Linked DNA regions of Homo sapiens: region 1 is linked to region 2. The links are contacts of gene promoters, found by promoter capture Hi-C in blood cells and fetal thymus (Javierre and others, 2016). All regions are on one chromosome and are shown on one strand. The core of a region is centred on a gene start or on the middle of the fragment in contact, and the rest is flanking DNA. Distances in the headings are between cores, read along the strand shown.

Region 1 (3,018 bases), core at 193-2,692, 1.8 Mb before region 2:
CTCCTCTCTGAAGTCAGGTGCCCAAAGGTGAGCAGTCTCTAAGTGTGGCTGAGCCCAGGGCTTTTATTGGCTCAGAATGGGTGAGTGCGTGCTGATTGGTTTGTGAGTATGCAAAAAAGGCTAAAACAAAGCCACCACTCAAAGATGGACATAACAGTGTTAAAAAACAATTAGGGAAGGGTAAGTATATGTAAATAGGTGAAGGGGTAGGGATCAATGATAGGAAAGCATGCCAGATGGGAAGAGAGGCTCTTAATCTGGTCCATGGATTTATTCAAGACTTGTAGCTTGGCTTTCAGACTTTAAACTGTCTTTGGTTTGAAGGTGGGGTTTCACCAAGGACCCACCCCTATCTGCCTAGGCATTTGTCTGCCTCCTGCCACTATCAGTGTGAAGCAGTAAAGTATTACTTTGTTTTAAATCAAATCTCTCAGTTAACTTGAAGAGTCAGAATCAGAATTGCTTTTTGTTTGTTTGAATAATACACTGTGGTGAGACTGGGCCATAAAGTTCCCACTTATATTCCAATAACATAATTGTACAAAGATTGGGTAGCAGACAATGTAGTTGAAAGTAATTTACTATAAATTGGCATGCCAGTAGTAGAGTTCTTTTTGGGTATGAAGAAATAGGCACTAGACATGGTCTGGAAGGATAATGCAAGAGAAGTAGCCAGCATTTCTGCATAAAAACATTTGGGATATATGACTTTGAGAGAGTATCCCAAGGGTCCAGGGAGATGAAGAGAGGGCCAGGCAACCTGATGAGAGATGCCAGGACTTCAAGACAAAATATAGCCATTGAAAAATTCCCAATGGCAAAGATGGCTTTGAAATTTTTAAGAACAGAGATTTGTAATATTAGATTTAGGACTGTTTGCTCTGTATGCTATGAAGAGATCCTCTTTTGTCATCACCAGCGCTGCCCTGTGGGAATCATAATTTGGAAGATGTTTGGGTTCATGCAGGGTAGAAAGAACATAATGGGAGGCTAGCATGAGTGAGACTGAGACTTAAGAAGGATTTCTAAATAAGAGGAAGTAGTAATAATGAGAATATAAATCCCTAAAATTCTGTAGAAATCTTGGGCATTATGGATTGAGGTGAATTTTTGAGGCATGACCCTATAAAAGTGGATACAGACACATAGCTTCTGAGATTAACACAGCTTTTCTTCCATCATGATATCATTATGATTGTTTCTTTAGATGGTTTTCATTTTTTCACTGATGTGAAAATCCTCTACTATCAGCTACTCTAGAAAGAATTTGCAAAGGCATTCTTGCTATCTGGAATGAAGGGATAATTTAGTTCAGACAAAAAAGCTTTGTTACGCTTCTAACAGCAAAATTGGCAAAATTACAAGACCTCTAATTTTTATGGGTTAGATGGGTTCTTAGGGAAACCCAAGGCTAAATACCTTGAACACTTTGTCAAGGGTTCTGCAGTCTAAGAGGCTAGGTCAGTGCAGCTGCAGGCAATTTGCAGGAGACTGGCAATGTGGTGTGTGGGCCCCAAGGCACTGAATGCTAATCTGAGACTATCCCCTCCAAAAGCTTTTGCCATTCATCATTTTCACATCCAGATGGCTCCCATTGTCTTTCTATTCCTCTTTTTGTGCAAAGTGGCTGCTCTTAAATCATGGTATATTAGTGTTGGAAGCAATTTTATTATTCATCTAGTAGTCCAATTACCACTCTTTATAGAAGAGGAAACGGAAACCCAAAGAGGGTAAATATCATGGTCAAAACTACCCAGTTACTTTGTATCACAGCTGAGAGAAGAACATTTTTATCTCTTGGATCTCAGCCCAGTTCTCATTGTACTTCACCAGAATCTGATAATTTGGAGGAAAACTTGTAGCACAGGAGTTGAAGTCAGATGACCACAAATTCAAACCTCATCTCTGTTACTTAATAACTGTTAGATCTCAGCCAGTTAATCATTAATCACCAGTTTTCTAAATTGTAAAATGAGAATGATAATGAAACCGCTATCACAGGCTGTCATGATGATAAATTGATATTTGAATTTGAAGTGCTTATCATAGTGCCTGGTAAATAGTAACTGCTCAGTTAATTAGCTTTTATCAGCATGGCTCCAAATCTTTTCACGTAACAATATAAAAATGGTGTTTCTTAGCGGGGAGGGCAAAGGAATGGATATTTTGTTTATGAGCATCTGCAAAGGCATATTTGACTTTATATATGCTAATAGTTCAGTCCAGTGATCAAGACTTGCTAGCCTGATGATTGTAAATGTCCTTCTATAGGAAACATTTTCTCAGAGAGTAGGAAGAATGAAAATTTTTAAGGTTTTTAAATACTGTGCTGTCTGTTGATGGCTGGCACACACTTATTGATAATAATGGTCAGTGGACCCTGTCATCAACTTGGGGTACCAAATACAGATCAGGGAGACGTTTTGAATTTATGATACTATGTGTATTTAAGAAGTAGTAGTTTGATTTTTCAAGATTATAAAATTGGCTTCAAAACAAAACAACATTCAACCTTTCTGCAACTTCATAGAATAGTTGGTGTATGTTTAAGCTCTCTAATTTTTAGAGGCATAGTTAATGCATTGAGAAATCTAAAAAAAAAAAAAAGGCAGATGATATTAACCAAGCCATAGTTCTCCCTTAAATTAATGAATTAATTGTCAGTTGAAGACAAAAAACTTGCAATCTTGGAAGGTGATTAGTATCTGGAAGATACTGGAAAAATACAGACTTGGAAAAAATTCAGCAAAAAACCCCCCAAAACAAAAAAATGAACCCAAACTCAGAATGAAAACAAAAACAAAAAATCCCAAACCACAATCAATGGTTTTTGAGATATTTACATTTATTTACTCTCTACTATAGAGGTTTGTTTGTTTGTTTGTTTGTTTTGTGGATACAGGGTCTCACTCTGTTGCCCAGGCTGGAGTGCAGTGGTACAACTTTGACTCACTGCAGCCTCAACCTCTTAGGCCCAAGCAATCCTCCTACCTCATCCCTCCAAGTAGCTGGGAGTAC
Region 2 (2,991 bases), core at 1-2,500:
GAGTCCCCGTCCCCTGTCCCGGACGAGGGGCCGGGGGCGCCAGCTCCGCACGCCGCGGGAGTGGGCGGCGAGCGCGGGCCTGCGAGGTAAGGAGGGATGGCGGCGGGTGGGGAGTGCGCCTGCACGTGTGTGCGCGCGGGTGCGCGCAGCGGAGGGGGCGCTGGGGGACCGGCCGGGGCGCGTCCCACCCGGCCACCTGCCCTTCCTGCTCTGTGCGGTCGCCCACGCCCTCCAGTCCCCCGCACCTGCGCTAGGGCGCCCGTCACCCGCATCCCTCACGCCTCCACGTCCCATCTCCCCCTCATGCAAACCCCACCCTGCCCACTAATAATTCCCACTGCAGAATCAGACCGAAACCTGGAGAGACAGCATTGCCTTTCTGCTCCCCTCGCCCCCCTCCCCTCCTGCTATAAATAACCCGGACTAGCGGGTCAGGAACGTCACACGGCGAGAAAACAGGACCCCGAGGTTTTCTTCTCTGGGAATAGGGGGCAAAGGGTGAGGAGAGGAGAAAGAAATCGCTCGTGAGTAGTGAAGAAAAGCTTGCTCTTTGACTACTAGAAGAGACCAGCCATTATTTTATTCTTTTCTTTCTCTTTCTTCCTTTTTTATTTTTCCGTGCCTTTCTTATTCTGTACCCGCCTCCCCAACCCCCCGCCCCAAATCCAACGGGTTGCTCAGCATTCCTCCCATTGGTTTTTTCCCTCCCTCCCGCTTCGACTCCCAACGCCCCCTCCCCCCTCCTCCCACCCGCTGCACAACCCCCGCCCCCCCCATCCCAGTCTCGCCCCAGGCAGGGCATGCTATTTGCCAAGGAAATAAAGTTCAAACTCCTTGCCCCGTGTCCGGCTGAGACCAGAAGTGGGCTTACCGGCACCTATCTTCCGCTGGCACGCCACACCTGCTCTCCTCTAATTTTCTAATCTGGTTTTGCATATTTAAAAGGACACACACACACACCAAAAACCCACAACCCGCTCGGTGCAAAACTGCCTCTTGCAACTACCGAAACTTACCAGACGCTGTAGTTATTTTGTCTTAACGAAAGGATAACAACAAAAATTTTATTCTGGATGCTGCTGTGGGGTGACTTTTCTATATTATTCAAATATGTATGTATTATACATATACATGTTTTTCCTTTTTCCCTTTTAATTTTTTTTTTTTTTTTTAAACAAGGAAATCTGCTCGGTCCCCGGCAGCCGCCGCTTCCCCTTTGATGTTTTGGTACGCCGTGCGCATGCGCCTCACATTAGAATTACTGCACTGGGCAGACTAAGTTGGATCTCCTCTCTTCAGTGAAACCCTCAATTCCATCAAAAACTAAAGGGATGTGGAGAGTGCGGAAAAGGGGCTACTTTGGGATTTGGTCCTTCCCCTTAATAATCGCCGCTGTCTGTGCGCAGAGGTAAGTGTGCCCAGCGTTTCTCTTTTCCGTTCTCACTTTGAAGGGTTCTGTCTGCATACCTCTGTGAGCAGGGAAATGTAGTAGGGATCCGATGCTGAAAACGCTATGCCTGCTTCCTTATTGATGCCTGCTTATTGTCATTTCTTTCTTTAGTGTCAATGACCCTAGTAATATGTCGCTGGTTAAAGAGACGGTGGATAGACTCCTGAAAGGCTATGACATTCGTCTGAGACCAGATTTTGGAGGTAATGGGGTTGCCTTGCAAATAAGTCCAGCCACAGCCGAAGCTGTCTTTTGAGCTTTGTGCGCGCTCTCTTCCCTCTCCCTAGTTGTGGGTGCATGTGGTGTCCTGAATGTGTCTCTATTTTACCATATTGAGAAACTGATCAAAACTTAAGCTGGATTATTGCTACCCACCACTTCCGTGGTCTTTCAATGAGACCCTCTTAGTGTGTACTCAAATTTGGTGACTGCTGTCTTTCAGCTTCACTGTTATGAATCCTTTGCTTCCCTGCCTTTGCTTTGTTGAGACACAAACCTCTTAAGTTTAGTTAATGGTGTGCCGAGAGAACCCGGCTTGCGGAAGGCCACCGTTAACATTTTTTAGGACAAGACGTGCAGGCAGTTGGTTGAGAGGTGGCGTTAACCCCCTGTGCCTGCCTACTTTGGAAGAGTTCTTCTGGCCAGGGTTACAGTGGCTCATGTCTGGATATAATCCACTCCTCCCAGCCTCACAGAAATGGGGAGGACTGGGGGATGGGAGGGTAGGGAGAAAATGGGAGGGTTAGAGAAGGTAGGGGAAAGAAGAATCTCTCTCTGGCTGCAGCCCTAGATATGCTGATAGACTCACTTAATATTGCTTCAGACTCTTATGAAGCTCAAAGAGTTAAAACCTGTGCACAGAAGGGGGTGGGAAAGACTGAGGAGGAGGGGGTTTCAGCGCAAAATATAAAAATCCCTTAGACTAGAAGGATTCTTGTGCTTCTGTGAGTTGTGTGCATTCACATGCTGAGACATATGCATATGTAGACAGAGCTGGAATCCCTTGTTCACAGCATACGTGTGTGCATATTCAATACAGCATTTGTTAGAGGAGTGTGTGCCTGCTACCTTTTTTTTTTTTTTTTTTAACAAAAAAAGCAGAGAATTGAAAAATTTGAGATTGAGTAGTGCAGAAGGGTTTTGGGCAGAGTGTCTTATGCTCAGGGATAACTCTTGCTGAGAATGAATGAAGTTCAAAGAAATCACGTGGCTGGCCGTCTTGCTTTGCAGGTCCCCCCGTGGCTGTGGGGATGAACATTGACATTGCCAGCATCGATATGGTTTCTGAAGTCAATATGGTGAGTATTGACATTTATGACTACTTCTTTGCAAACTTTCGTTTGGGGACAGGAAGGAGAAATGAGCCAGCTATTGGGGGTGGGGGTGTGCTTGGCTATGTGTATGAGGTGGGGGTGAGAGCATGGAATTTCACCCTAGAATACCCTGTGTTGAGGTTAGAGAGTTGACTCTTTCTGGTCCCTAAGGATTTTTTCAACCTGGTTCAGATACTTGGAGTAAAATGCATCACACATTCATGTGTA

The links. Contacts are between HindIII fragments. The CHiCAGO score rates a contact against its expected background, and 5 or more counts as called.
Region 1: a contact is called between a fragment that was not itself captured here and the fragment with the promoter of GABRB2 in region 2, in 1 of 17 cell types (M0 macrophages). The highest score is 5.3, in M0 macrophages.

The regions. Positions count from the first base shown.
Region 1 is chr5:163,361,923-163,364,940 of GRCh38, reverse strand. All of the region lies in intron 1 of LOC105377700 (a long non-coding RNA gene), which reads left to right. Among named protein-coding and RNA genes, the nearest start is that of CCNG1, 74 kb to the left of the region's middle. The HindIII fragment of the contact is 231 bases long and covers 1,327-1,557 here.
Region 2 is chr5:161,544,984-161,547,974 of GRCh38, reverse strand. GABRB2 (gamma-aminobutyric acid type A receptor subunit beta2) reads left to right here and starts at 1,250. Exons shown (of 10, transcript NM_001371727.1): 1 at 1,250-1,408; 2 at 1,562-1,653; 3 at 2,681-2,748. The coding sequence starts at 1,332. The HindIII fragment of the contact is 2,842 bases long and covers 545-2,991 here.